2 separate regions of the Homo sapiens genome follow, and region 2 is linked to region 1. Evidence: promoter capture Hi-C in 16 types of primary human blood cells and fetal thymus (Javierre and others, 2016). All regions are on one chromosome and are shown on one strand. Each heading gives the region's core, a stretch centred on a gene start or on the middle of the fragment in contact. The rest is flanking DNA. Distances are from core to core; before and after follow the strand shown. Region 1 holds the start of TRIM54 (tripartite motif containing 54). Region 2 overlaps CAD (carbamoyl-phosphate synthetase 2, aspartate transcarbamylase, and dihydroorotase).

Evidence for each region. Contacts are between HindIII fragments. The CHiCAGO score rates a contact against its expected background, and 5 or more counts as called.
Region 2: a fragment that was not itself captured here is called in contact with the fragment with the promoter of TRIM54 in region 1 in 2 of 17 cell types (M2 macrophages and M0 macrophages); the score reaches 6.6 in M2 macrophages.

Annotation. Positions count from the first base shown.
Region 1 is chr2:27,279,953-27,287,146 of GRCh38, reverse strand. TRIM54 (tripartite motif containing 54) reads right to left here and starts at 4,718. Exons shown (of 9, transcript NM_187841.3): 1 at 4,248-4,718. The coding sequence starts at 4,415. DNAJC5G (DnaJ heat shock protein family (Hsp40) member C5 gamma) reads right to left here. Exons shown (of 7, transcript NM_173650.3): 6 at 6,914-6,981; 7 at 5,648-6,718. The coding sequence ends at 6,932. The HindIII fragment of the contact is 12,114 bases long and covers 1-7,194 here.
Region 2 is chr2:27,241,946-27,249,139 of GRCh38, reverse strand. It overlaps CAD (carbamoyl-phosphate synthetase 2, aspartate transcarbamylase, and dihydroorotase), which reads right to left. Exons shown (of 44, transcript NM_004341.5): 39 at 7,017-7,194; 40 at 6,713-6,838; 41 at 6,365-6,520; 42 at 6,167-6,268; 43 at 5,848-5,942; 44 at 5,197-5,724. The coding sequence ends at 5,622. Among named protein-coding and RNA genes, the nearest start is that of SLC30A3, 18 kb to the left of the region's middle. RefSeq lists an enhancer at 5,304-6,503. The HindIII fragment of the contact is 5,629 bases long and covers 958-6,586 here.

The DNA of each region.
Region 1 (7,194 bases), core at 3,469-5,968:
GATATGCATTGTGTGGCAAATTAACAAAGAAACCCGTCAGAGGAGAATCCAGGAGTGCTAAGCCTTAGTCTAGGTTTTCGTTCTCACTAAATCAAGATCTTCCCTACAGAAGTAAGAGCCCTAACCCTGCTACAAATTTAATGCAATTCACAAAATTTTAGTGAACCAATTTTGCATCAGGGAGACCTGCCCAAAGTTGGACTGAAGAAATCCTGGTGCCTTCAGAATGGGTAGAAGTGGTTGAGGAGGCAGGCTGGGTAGGATCTTCTCTGGCAGGCCTGTACCTGATGACACCTGGTCCTAACAACTAAAGGATAAAGAAATGGAATTTGGGTGGCGCGAAACAAAAGTCATCTCTCTCAGACTGCCCCTTGTTAGAGAAGGAGGCTTCTTTCTTGACAATCCCCCCTCTGCAAGTCCCTCTGTAGACAGACCTCCTCCAGAAAAGCTGTTCCAGAACAACCTTCTTACAAGGCCTTTTGGTTGTCTGTTAAATTACAACAGGTTGCAGGCTCAAAAACAAGTGCCCACAGTGAAGTGGAGGCAGGTATAAAAATAAACTGAAGGCTTGCTTTAAAGCCGTTTAGGAGTGAATAGAATTTACAAATACAGAAACACATGGGAAGATGTTTGTGTCAAATTCCCACACCAACAGCTTTCCTTTAGTGGAAGTTCTTGGTAGCTGAGTGGGTGCAAGTGTGGGGAAAGAAGGAGGAAGAAATTAGAGGGGGTTAATGTGGTGTCTTGGTGTTTCATTCTGTTTCAATTCAGAGAGAAAGAGTTGTTACAGCTCTAAAAAGAATTACATTAAGATGGCCACTATGTAAAAATGTTTGCGGACATGGGCTTGAATGTAATATGCAAAAATTGCTGGGCTTGGTGGTGTGCACTCCAGAGGCTGAGGCAGGAAGATAACTTGAGCCCAGGAGTTCAAGATCAGTCTGGGTAACATAATGTGACACCATCTCAAAAAAAAAAAAATAATATGCAAAAATAAAAATAACTGTGTTGGGGAGGTAAGATTATGGATGATTTCCTCCCAACCCCTTAATACTGTTCAACTAACAGTATTTTCTTTTTTGTAGAGATGAGGTCTCACTATGTTGCCCAGGCTGGTCTTAAATTCCTGGGCTCAAGTGATCCTCCTGTCTCAGCCTCCCAAAGTGTTGGGATTACAGGCATGAGCCACCTTACGTAGCCAGTATTTTTAAATAAATTGTTTTCAAATTTTGCTTCCTGGCTGTCTAGTTAACTTGGTCTTATAAAATCACAATTCCCAAAAACTCTTGTTTGTTGTCCATCACGGCAGTTTTTAGGACAACAAAACACAGAAAACCATCTAAATGTTTTAGAGGACAGATTATTTAAATAGACTGTGGTCCAGTCATAACAATGAAAACTACACAGCTATTTAAAAACGAAGACATAAATCTGAATGGTGGATATGGAACAATCACCCACAGCGAGTAAGTGAACAAAGGCAGGTGGGGGGCGATGGGTCTCGCCTGAGAACACATATACATGCAAATGTGCCGATTTGTGGAAATTTTCTGGAAGTATTCCCAAGAAAGTTGGTAATAGTTACTTCTATCTGGTGAGACAACTGAGGGTCTGAGGTGAATAGCAGATTTGCTTTTCATGATATGAACTCCTATACTGCTTGAAAACAGTATGTTTACATGTTACAAATTCTAAGTGATATACTGGTATCACTTTGATAACCGTTAACTTTCTAGGCAATGCTCTAAGGGTATTCTTCCTAAGTGGTTTGAAGGTAGAGGAAAAGTCCTATTCTTTCCAAAAGTCCTATTCTTGCCCCATACTTAGAAAACAGACAATCTGATTATGCCTACAGTTGTCAAAATGTGGAGGCAATGTGCGAAAAAACTAAATATGCTCATCTTTCAGAGGGAGATCTACTGAGATATATTGAGATACACAGATCTAAGTGCAGCTGAAGAACTGGGTCAGCCTCCCACCAGGCCCTCCCAAATAAGCAGCAAGGGATGAGCTGTTCACTCTTCCTCCTTGGAGGGCCCAAGGGTGCTTTGCACCTCAAAAGATACACCACTCCAGATCCACAGAGCCACCCCAAAGCCCTGGGTATCATGTTATCTCCAAATATTCTGTACAGGATTTGCCCCAAGCCATTCCAAGGTCTCTCTGAGCCCAGATCCGTATTCTAGAGCTTTCTGGAACTGAAACAGTGTGCTTGGATAGAGAGAGTTGACTTAAATAAGCAGGTCACTTAAACACATTCTAGCCTCCATGTATGGGGCCTATTCCTCTGCCAGATGACAGAGGGACCCAGGAATGCACTTGGCCCTTCTGACCACTTTTCTACAGGACACATCACCTTAGCTTTCAAAACTTCTCTTTGCTTTCACACATTTCAAGTTCCAGTGTGAGGATGTTTCACTGTAAGTTCATGAGAAAGGATGGCAAAATCTTTCTGCCATTTCCCTCCTAGGCATCTCAGCCTGAAGGATGTTCAGAGTTACTTAGACCAAGGAAAAACCAAGATGGTGGGCAAAGCATTGCCTCTCATGTAGGACTTCATGCCCAGGACGAGGAGGCACAGCATTTGGTCTAGGCCCCCCGAGAGGGAAAATCTACTGGCTCTGAGATACTCTGGAGCTGAATAATGGCAGGTTTGGACACATAAAGAATAGGAGAGGGAATGGGTCTCAATGGGAAGATGGCAGGAGAGACCACAGAGTGCTGGTCTTCAGTGAAGGTGGCACAGAGCAGACACACAAGGTGTGGGTCACAGGGTACATTGTGGGATGGCCTGACCTAGCCAGCCCATTCCTTTCCAAAACAAGCTGCCCCAAGGAACTTAAAAAGGGAAGTATTTTCTTGGTTAGGTTAAAAATCACTTGTGTTTAACACATTTCCTCATCATTTCTGACACAGATGAAGAATACTTGTTTGGGATGTTCCATGTCACTGACACACATACTAAACCAGCCAGCTCTGGTCTATTCGGGGTTTGTTTTTGTTTTTGTTTTTTTGAGATGGAGTCTTGCTCTGTCGCCCAGGTCAGAGTGCAGTGGCATGATCTCGGCTCAAGGCAACCTCCACCTCCTGGGTTCAAGTGATTCTCCTGCCTCAGCCTCCTGAGTAGCTGGGACTACAGGCGCCTGCAACCACGCCCGGCTAATTTTTGTATTTTTGGTAGAGATGGGGTTTTACCATATTGGCCAAGCTGGTCTTGAACTCCTGACCTCGTGATCTGCTGGCCTCAGCTTCCCAAAGTGTTGGGATTACAGGCGTGAGCCACTGCACCTGGCCATATTCAGGGCTTTTACTTAACGGCAAGGCCGTGTGTGTGTGTGTGTGTGTGTGTGTGTGTGTGTGTGCGCGCGTGTGTGTGTGTGTGCCTTTGCCCCTCACTCTCCCTGATCTCTGTTCCATTTTATAGCCTACTAGAACCTCCCCAGTAGCACAGGAAAAAAAAAAAAAGCCCACTTATAATCCATTCTGGTATATGCTGCTTTTATTTCTAAACCAGTGGCTATACTAGTATCTGTGAATTTGATTAGCTCTGCTTGGCCCCATGACCACAGATAAAACAAAACTGGCTGGACTTCTGAGAAGTAAATTTCTTTGCCTTCTCCCTGCTTGTCAAGTGACCTCAGTAGCTTTTAACCAGTAGGCCTCTTTACTGAACAATCTGGAGGGTAACAGGTATGAACTCAAGTTGGGGAGAGTTCCCAGTCTCCTGCCCACTATGTCTAACTCTGTCACCCACAATGGATGCCTTCAACTTTCCTTAAATACAAATAGTTTTACTGCCATTATGGAGCTTTCTCACAGGGTCGGGTTTTGTTTGTTTGTTTTTTAACGTTTCATTATCTCATTAATCTTTTCTCCGTATTTTCCACAATGCTCTCGAAGTCTGAAACTCCAAACTGGAATGCAGAGTCTGGCACAGGCTCTTATAAAGCCCGGTGTGGGATACCCTCCCTCCCAGTTTCCACAGGGTCTACTTTCCTTGGTAGATCCCAGCACTCCAGCTGCCGTCTATGCACAGGCTGTACCTGCCAGCCTGCAGGGCAGCTGCTGACTCATGCTTGCTCTGGGATTTGCTTGGACCCCAGCCCTTCTGCTCTCCAGCCACAACAGCCACCACCCACCTCAGAGAGCACTCTATCCATCACCTTCTGGGGTCTCAGCTCTGACCTGATCAGTCCCCCACAGGTCTGCATTGCTTTACCTGGCCCTGCCCCGTCCCTGGCACCCACCTGGAAGACGTCGTTGGCACATTTGCGGCACAGGTTGTGTTGGCAGGGCAGGATCACCACTGGTTTGGAGAACATCTCCAGGCAGATGGGGCAGATGAGCTGCTTCTCCAGGTTGTCCATGCTGTGTGCATCCCCTAGCAGCGGCTTGAAACCCACTGTGAAGTTCATCCCCTCGGTGGTCGTGCCTGGCCTGGGCCCTGCTCCTGGCCTTCACTCACTGCCTGTAGACCCTTCCTCGCTTAGATGGCCTCTGGATTCCCTTCTGTGGCTCACTCTTGAAATAGCTCTGCTTTCTCTCCTGTCCCTTTAACAACTTGTCTCGTCCCAGATAGCAGTCTTCGGACAGTCTCTACTTTCTGCTCTGCACCCTCGCCAGGCTCACGTAGTTTTAGCTATCCCTCTCTCTCTGTAAAATTCTCCTTTTGTTTCCCAAATGACTCTCTCTTGTTCACTCTGTGGGTAGCACTGTTTGTCCCTTACTCCCCAGAGAGCAGATTAATTTTACTGTGGGGGTTGGGAGACAAGGGGCATCTGCATGACATTCCAATTCCCAATTTAGCTCATGTAAGGCGAGCCACAGCTGTCATGGAGTGAGTGACCCTGACTCACTCAGGAATGGGTGACTCCCTTGAGCAAGGGCAGGGGTGAGTGCCACTGCTTACAGTGAAAGGTGGGTCAGCAAAGGTGCTGCCCTCTCACTCTGAAGGCTCCTCTCAGCCCGGGACCCCTGTTCTGGCTTGGGCCCTTCTTCCAGGACAGTGACACAGAATCTAAATCTGCCTGTGTGAGAGGCACCCATACATAGCTCAGGGTGGGAGGAAAGATCTTGCCAGACTTAGAGTCAGTAGCGGTTGCCTCCTCCACAGGCTCAGCCAGTGACCCTGGTCCTCCTCCTCAAGACTGTGTGATTCAGAACAGCAGCTCCAGGGACTACATCAAGCCTCTTGTCCAACACCTCTGGCTCATTTTTGTTCTTCCCTGGCCTTTTCTTATATCACCCTAGGAAAAGAAGCTCAAGAGGCTAGAAATGACTGTTGTGCCAAGGCCTGGACCTACCTATGAGCATGCCCCCGAGGAAATGTGGGATTCTGGTCCGTGAACACATCCCTGGAGCCACTCCAAGGACTCAAATTTGTTAGGAAATTGGGAGAAGGTGAGCTGGGCAGAAAGGACCTGAATGCCAGGGACCTATTTTGGGCACCCAGGGAATCAATCTCCAGGGAAATTTTAGAGCACTGACAAAGTCATAATCACAAGGCTCCGGGAAGCCTCTGACCCAGCTCCACAGTTGTCCAGGACTCCTACTCTCCAAGCCAGGCTTGCCCCACTTGTGAGCACTGGTCTTCTTTTTCTCCTACAAGTCTTCTCCACTTGATCTTAGGCAAAAGGCCAAGAAGCAATTTCTTTAGGCCTTTTTTCTCTACCCCAGACACAATTTGTCTTTTTTGGGCATAATATATGCCTTGGGATTGGATGAAAGCTCTTTTATTTACTGACATTCTTTAGCCTTTCTCCTAGTCCAGGGAGAGAAGTTTGAGGAATTAGTAGGCTGTGACCCTGAGTGGGTGGGAAATACACGGTGTGAGGAGGATACGAAACAGCAGCACAAAGAGGCAAGAGTGGGAAAAGAGTCCAGAAAGTACAATCTTTTCCAGATCACATATTTCATGCCCCTATTTTTAAGAACAAATTATATGTCAATTGGCCTGCATAATATGTGAAAAGGATGGAGGCAAGCTGGCACTGATGTTTGAACTTCAGTTAACCTACAGGACCAAGGCTAATGCATGCTGTGCTGGTAGCTGAAGTCCAAGGATAATCTAAAGATGGAATGACTACCCCTAAGCCTCAAATGCACTCGCAGTTTTCCTGAGTTGACTCATAGTGGCATGGAATGAGGCTGGCAATGCCAATGGCCGTGGGCACCAGAAGATGAAACCAACTCCATACAGGCGTTATTGGCTTAGGAATGAGGCTGATGCTAGGGGTTCTTGGTACACAGAGTTGCAACAAGGGAGAATTAATGGGTGCAGCAGCTCCAGGGACAGGATCCACCCTGCTCAGTTATCAGGCTCTTGGTGGTGATATCGCAAGGGGCTCAGGGATCCTACCAGCTGGCATTGGTTCCAATAACAAGGCAGACACAGGAAAAAGACTCTTCAGGAAAAATCTGCCACCACTGCCTGAGACCTCATAAGGGGAGGGAGGGGAGGGCTGCTTTCTGACGGAGTAAAATTGGGACTGCAACTGAAAGGAAGAGTAGCTGGGCAACCCCATACAGAGTTGTGGTACCAAGGGTAGAGGTGATGTCCTTACTGGGATCAACGTCATCAGTGCTTCTGAAGAGATTCTTGAGATCCTTATAAGAAGAGGGGTCAAATCAGGGTCAATGTCAGGACAGGGCTACTTGCTCCTCTCTTCAATGTGTCCAGGGGACTGGGCAGCAGAAGGCACCCTCACTGGGTCAGCACCTAGTGGCGGAAGAAGGTGGCGCTTTATTAATCAGAAGGAATAATTACCTAGAACTTAAAGCAAACCCCTACATGTAAGGATATAAACACATAGTCCATACTATAAGGATGTAAACTTTCTACTAATGACTCATCTGACGTTAGCTTACATGCTTTTCTTATCTGATAACTGTTGCTGCCTTTCGGTTTACATACCTCATCCTTCTTCATCTCTTAAAAATCATCTTCGCTATTTTCCTCGCTTCTAAAATCACATTTGGCTCCTATGATGGAATTATATATATGTTTACATATACAAACGTTTAGTAACTTTTCGTAGTGTACTGATGAGAAAACCGTTACCTTGCAGTTACTCATTAGCATCACCAGGTGGCGCTGGTGTCAAGTTCAATCAGCTTATAAAAGTTCATTTGGGGGGGAATGATCTCAGACTTTCCTTTTCTTTTCTTCCTCTTCCTCTTCCCCTCCCCCTCCTC
Region 2 (7,194 bases), core at 2,523-5,022, 37 kb after region 1:
CATAAAATATCTTCTAATCCCCAGCTCCTACCAATGGGCCAACAAGCAGGTTTCATACATGCTGATTCCCGAGGTATAAATCTGTATCTGATGGTAGCATTTGATGGTAGCAATTCAGGTGCTCTCAAGCAGGCAGTCACTTCTATTTCTTTTCTTTTTTTTTTTTTTTTGAGATGGAGTCTCGCTCTGTCGCCCAGGCTGGCGTGCAGTGGCGTGATCTTGGCTCACTGCAAGCTCCGCCTCCCGGATTCACACCATTCTCCTGCCTCAGCCTCCCGAGTAGCTGGGACTACAGGTGCCTGCCACCACACCCGGCTAATTTTTTTTGCATTTTTAGTAGAGATGGGGTTTCACTGTGTTAGCCAGGATGGTCTCGATCTCCTGACCTCGTGATCCGCCCGTCTCGGCCTCCCAAAGTGCTGGGATTACAGGCGTGAGCCACCGCGCCCGGCCAGCTCATTTCTATTTCTTGGGTCCTCCAGGGAGTGCAAGCCCTTCTACGCCCCTGCCCTGGACATGGCTTCCCCCAGCCCCACCACAAATTCAGTGTTTAGCTTCCCCTTGAGTCCTGCTTGTGACTCTATTAATCTCCTGCGGATTCATCACAGCTTCCCTGACCTTCTCTAAAGCCTTTGAGCTCCCAATCTCAACACCCATTTTTTTCCTTGCCACTTGGTAAATGACCTCAGCTTCTAAACCAGTCCCTCAGTAACCTCGTGAAACCTGGTTACCACCACAAAGCATCAGCCTAACAACTATTGTGACAAGGTCCTTGCCTCAAATTTCCTTCTCTTTGGCCTGCTACAGGATTTGAATCTGCCAATACGTCTCCCGTCCCTCACACACTTGGAATTCTGGGCCTCTTGAGGGCTTTCTCCTGAGTTCTCCTGCGGCCCTTGCTGAAATTGAGGCTTGCCGCTATTCTCTTGGTGAACAAATATGCATATTTTAAAAGCTTCAATTACCTTTATGTTGATGCTTCGGTCAACACATTTACTGAGCACCTACTATGTGCTCAACCCTGTTCTGGTGTTTGGGATACATCAGTGAGTAAAGTCCCTGCTCTCATGGCACTTGTGTTGTCACATATAAATGCCACCTGTCTCTATTGTGCTTGCTCCAACTCCCCAGCTCCATTACCTCCATGACATCTCCATATAGATGGCCCACGGCAGCTAGGTATCATGCCCAAATGGAATCAGCCCTCCCCTACCCCAAACTGGCTATCTGGTCTACCTTCATCAGTCTTCTTTCTTCCAGTCTTGAGGTCCCACACTGTGCAGTCATTCTTCACTCTCCTCTCTCCTCAGTGTTATAACATCTATTCCTATCTCTGAATCTAGAACCTCTTCACCCATGATCTGTATTTACTGCAACAACTTCCTAATTGGCGTCCTGATGGTGAAATGGCTCCTTTCTCTCTTCTAGGCACTGTTGCCAGACGAGTCTTCCATTAAGCACTCATCCCATCCTGGCCCTCATTCTCTGCTCCTCACCTCCACCAGCCAATGCCCCCTCATTGTCCCAGGGGATATTACTGCAGAACTACAGACACTTTGCAATTTTACACTGGGAATTGCCAACTACCCTTTTAAAGCCTATAGGTGGGTTGGGCATGGTGGCTCATGGCTGTAATCCCAGCACTTTAGGAGGCTGATGCAGGAGGATCACTTGAGCCCAGGAATAGACCAGCCTGGCCGGGCGCGGTGGCTCATGCTTGTAATCCCAGCACTTTGGGAGGCTGAGGCGGGCGGATCACGAGGTCAGGAGATCGAGACCACGGTGAAACCCCATCTCTACTAAAAATACAAAAAATTAGCCGGGCGTGGTGGCAGGTGCCTGTAGTCCCAGCTACTCGGAGAGGCTGAGGCAGGAGAATGGCGTGAACCCGGGAGGCGGAGCTTGCGGTGAGCCAAGATCGCGCCACTGCACTCCAGCCTGGGCAACAGAGCAAGACTCCGTCTCAAAAAAAAAAAAAAAAAAAAAAAAAGTAATAGGCCAGCCTGGGCAACATGGCGAATCCCCATCTCTATAAAACAAAACAAGAACAAAAATTAGCCAGGTGTGGTGGCATGTGCCTGTGGTCCCAGCTATTCTGGAGGCTGAGTGGGGAGGATAACTTGACTCCAGGAGTTTGAGACCAGCCTGGACGACATGGCAAAACCCCATCTCTACAAAAAAAACACAAAAAATTAGCCGGGCATGGTGGTATGGCCATGGTGGTCCCACCTCCTTGGGAGGCTTAAGTGGGAGGATCACTTGAGCCCATGAGGTCAAGGCTGCAGTGAGCTGAGATCGTGCCACTGCACTCCAGCCTGGGTGACAGAATGAGACCCTGTCTCAAAAACAAAATTTTAGTATAAAAAATAAAAGCCCACAGGCATACTGACTTGCCATGGTTGCAGGTAGTTAGTTGTAAGGGCCAGGACTAGAGTGCAGCTGACAAAGCTCCCGGTGGACTACCTATGTTGAGGGGGATGTCTCCTTCACTAGGGTGGACAGTGAAGAGGTGGGAGAAAATGGCTGTAATAGCAACCCAACGTTAGCCACACTTCTTTCAAGGTGGGGGATAGTCAAAGGATTCATCCAAGTGTCAAAGGGATGTATCTGTAAAGCGCTTAGAACAGTGCTTGGCATATAAATGTTTCTTATAGAAGAAATAGATCAAACCTCTTAAGTACCTCAGGAAGCAAACTAACTTTTTATGCTTCATGACAATTACATGGCAGATATGAAGTTGTTTCTCAGTGGATGTGGAACAGGCCCAAAGGTATTGTATTAAAGGGCTAATTTTGGCTGGGTGCGGTGGCTCATGCCTGTAATCCTAGCACTTTGGGAGGCTGAGGCGGGCAGATCACTTGAAGTCAGGAGTTCAACACCAGCCTAGCCAACATGGCAAAACCCCATCTCTACTAAAAATACAAAAAGTTAGCTGGGTGTGGTAGCACATGTCTGTAGTCCCAGTTACTCGGGAGACTGAGGCAGGAGAATCACTTGAACCTGGGAGGCGGAGGTTGCAGTGAGCCAAGATTGCACCACTGCACTCCAGCCTGGGCAACAGAGCGAGATGCCATCTCAAAACGATAAAAATTTTAAAAAATAAAGGGCTAATTTTGGTTTTTGCTGGTAAGTTTTTTCATTTTGTTTCCCAATATAATGAGATTTACTTTCTGGTCATACGGGAAAAAACTTTATTCAACTCAGAGCTGAGCTATGATTAGGAGAGCCAAAGAAAGGCTCAGGACAGGAACATCTCCCACCACTTAGCAACTAAGTAAAATGCGTCCGCTACTTGGCAGAAAACACTGCTTCTACTTGAGGGTGAGGCTATCCAAGTTCTGTGGGAATCTGTGTGCGAGTCCCAAGTACTCATGAGTACAATTGGGAAAATAATCTCTGACTTGTTCTAAGAGTTTAAGCAAGGAAATGGAGTCTCTAGAAAGAAAAAGAAGAGTTCTGGAAATGGTACTCTATTTTCCAACCAATAAAGTCCTCCAGGTACCTGAGGGAGACCTTGTCAGGCAGGAATCTGGGTTTGGAAAGACTGGAAAGGGTTAACATTAGCAGGACTGGAGGCCTCCACACTCTAGGACTTAGCATTATACTTAATACCCTCCTTCAAATAGTACCTGTGGTTGTAAATTAATATTTTTGTTGGAATTGACATCCAAGCCCCCTGTTCTGGTCCGTCAGACTCTCAACCCTCACAATACTCAGTAGGAATCTCCTGCTGCGTTCAGTGTCTCCTCACTGTACCGCAGACACAATTTCCATTCCTCTCGAACTGTACTGTAAAGGAGACTCTTCGTCCTTCCTCACGACACAGCTCACACCCCACGGCACAGGGTTCTCCGACTCCGTATCTGTGCTGACCTCTTCTGGAAACTGGTTCCCTACAGGACTGCTTAGATTTGTGGCTTGTCTTTCCCACTGGTTTTTGGATGCCCTTAAAGCCAGAAATGACCTTTCCTTTTAACAGAAAGGTGGGTTGTTAAGTCAAGAAGTCCTGCGTATGAGTCTCAAGGTGAGTGGCCCAGCAAGCTACCACCTTTTTTTTTTTTTTTGGAGATAAGAGTGTCACTGTTGCCCAGGCTGGAGTGTAATGGTGCCATCTTGCCTCACTGCAACCTCCACCTCCTGGGTTCAAGCGATTCTCCTGCCTCAGCCTCCCAAGTAGCTGGGATTACAGGCGCACACCACCAAACACAGCTGATTTTTATATTTTTAGTCGACAGGGTTTCACCATGTTGGCCAGGCTGGTCTCAAACTCCTGACCTCAGGTGATCCGCCTGCCTCAGCCTCCCAAAATGCTGAGATTACAGGGGTGAGCCACCGGCCCCCACCACTTCTCTGAGCCAGTGTCCACATCTGTGAAATGGGTGGAAGGCTGGTGTGAGAAATGAGAATACGCATCAAGTTCCTGTTCACACTAAGTTCTCAAAAAACGAGGTCCTTCTCCTTTTCTCATCTCTAGAATACGCTGTTACTCTCTGGATGAAGTAGGTGATTCCTGAATGGTGTCAGAGCAGTTTGCACTATCATGTGCCAGTGTGCAGCAGTTTAATCTGTAGAAGCCACTGGAAGCCTTATGACCCGAGGCTGAAAACTGAGGGTGAGAATTGCCTTGTTCTTCCTTGTACTCCCACTGCACATGGTGCTTTGTACCCACAGAGTGCTAAGTTTTGTTGGAACAAGAAATGAGATTTCTCCAATGCTACTCAAGTTCACTGGAGGGCACAGCTGCTCCTCAGAAGCCCTCACCCACAGACACATAAGCTACTGCCCTTAGGCTGCTGCCCTGGGGTCTCCAAGCCAAAGTGCTCCTCAGCCCTCCATGGCATCTGCCCCTCTGTCCAATGTCAGGCAGAGGCTCCCAGGGATGGGAAATAGGAGGGGCTCCTAATAGTGACAGTGGCTGAAGAACTCCAGGGTGGTTTTGAGAATGCAATGGCAGCCTTAGCCACTGGAGGAGGACTAACCAGAAAGAGTGAGGAAGAGTCCAGGCCTGGCCTCAGACAGGCCGCAGTGCTCAGCCTTCCTTTTACCCTGATGAGTGTTCTCCCAGTGTCAGGAAGAGGGCAGAACTCTCTGTCAGGTCTTTGAGTCAACTGAATTGAGGAAGGAGGGCTGGACACCAGCCAGAGCCCCCAGGTAAGCGCTGGCATCAGCACGACACAGGACTCAGAGAGCACAGAGTTAACACGCTCCTGCCGAGTCCCAAAGAGTCACGAGTGTGAAAATGCCGAGTGTGGGCACGCAGCCCTAGCCAGAGCCCTGCCTGGTGAGGCTGCTCTTATAATTTGGGAATCTGCTCAATTTTCTAAAAGAAAGCTCTGTTCTACTACACTCAGCATCAAGGGACAGCTCGGCTGTTTATTAAGTCAGTAGAAAAATGACTGTACAGGTTTAAGGTGCAGGAATGAAGATGGGGCAGACTGGGCCCCAGCATCTGAGGCCCCACCCCCATGCCAGAGAGCTCCAGTCCAGAGCCTGAAGTGTGGTCAGCACATGTGAGCTATCTGGATGTCCAGGAATATCTAAGTGTGCTGCCCCCGTAGGAGGCACTGGAATTCCTTGCCCAGCAGCTGGGCCTAAAGAGAAGAGGCTGAGGAAGCCAGGCCCTAGAAACGGCCCAGCACGGTGGCTAACAGAGCCATGCGGATGTACATGCCGTTCTCAGCCTGGCGGAAGTAGGCTGCGCGGGGATCCGAGTCCACTTCCACGCTGCAAAAAAAAAAAAAAAAAAAAAGGAAGTGTTATCGTGCAGCCCATGGATGGCTTGTCCAGGACTAAGTCTCCTCCCGTCCACCAGCCCCGAGGCAGTCTCTGACTCTGATGCTGCACCACCTTATCTCGTTGACACGGGGCATCGGGTGCATCACCACCATCTTCTTCTTGGCCCGGGTCATGATGTGGGGAGTGAGGATGAACTGACCAAAGCACTGCAAAGCAGATGGGGTCCCCATTAGTGCCTTGGGGTAGGAGTGGCTACAGAGGACACAAGTCTGGGCTCCACTGGGGTCCCCTCCACACCCACATGCAGCTATGGCAATTGACAGATGTGAAGTTTAACAGCTCTGACCCAGCCCTCAGCCCAGCCTTTCTGTCCTCATATCTGATGCCCTACGGCAGCAGCCCTGGCTTCTTCCTCAAGCCCAGCACTCACAGCTTCGTACTCCTGGGTAGAGCCAAATCGTTCCTTCTGGATTCGAGTCATGTAGAGCACATCAGTGTCAGGCAGCGCCTCCTCAATGCTCTCGAATTCCTCCTGGAGGGTGAGGAGAGCCATGGTGGATGCAGCGCTGGGCTCTGACTGCCCAACCCACATCTCCATGGCTTCCAGGCAGGGCTGTGAGGGTCTCACCTGCTTGGTGCCGCGGGAGGCCACGAAGGCCCGCACAGTGGGTGGCATGCGCAGGCTGGGAGGTGCCACGTAGCGCAGGCTGACACGATACTGGGTGAGCAGGCAGGCCAGGGAATGTACTGTGCGTCCGTGCTTCAGGTCACCCACCATCGTGATCTAGGAGAGGAATCCAGTCACCACAGGGATCCCAGACTGAGTGCCCCCCGACATCATTTCCAAGCTTTTAAAAGCCTCTGGAGCAGAATGAAGGCCTCCTTGATGCAGCTGTCCTGTACCGGGGTAACCACTTCCTGCCTCCCTCTCTAGATCGTCCCCTGGCAGGGATCCAAACCCTGCCACCACCCTCACCGTCATGCCATTGACAGTTCCCAGCTCCTCACGGATGGTGAAGATGTCCAGCAGGGCCTGGGTGGGGTGCTCTCCGACCCCATCCCCAGCATTGATCACTGGCCTCCGGCAGTGCTTGGCGGCCAGCTGGAAAAAAGGGGAAAATCCTGTCTTTTGCAGCTCAGAGGCCCCCCAACTGCCAGTCCCCCTCTTCTGGGGTCCCCTCACTCATCTGGCCCAAAACACAGAAAACGTGGGCAGAAGGGTTCTCATGCCCCTGGGTCCAGCCTTCTTAACCCCATCTCAGTACCCAGGCTGGCCTCACCTCCACTGCTCCAGGCTGGGGGTGCCGGAGCACGACGACGTCGGCATAGCAGCTCATGGTCTGCACGGAGTCAGCCAGGGATTCGCCCTTCTGGACGGACGATGTGGCTTCCGAGAAGCTGAGCACAGCACCTCCCAGCCGGGCCATGGCTGCTGCAAAGGAGCTGCTGGTCCGTGTG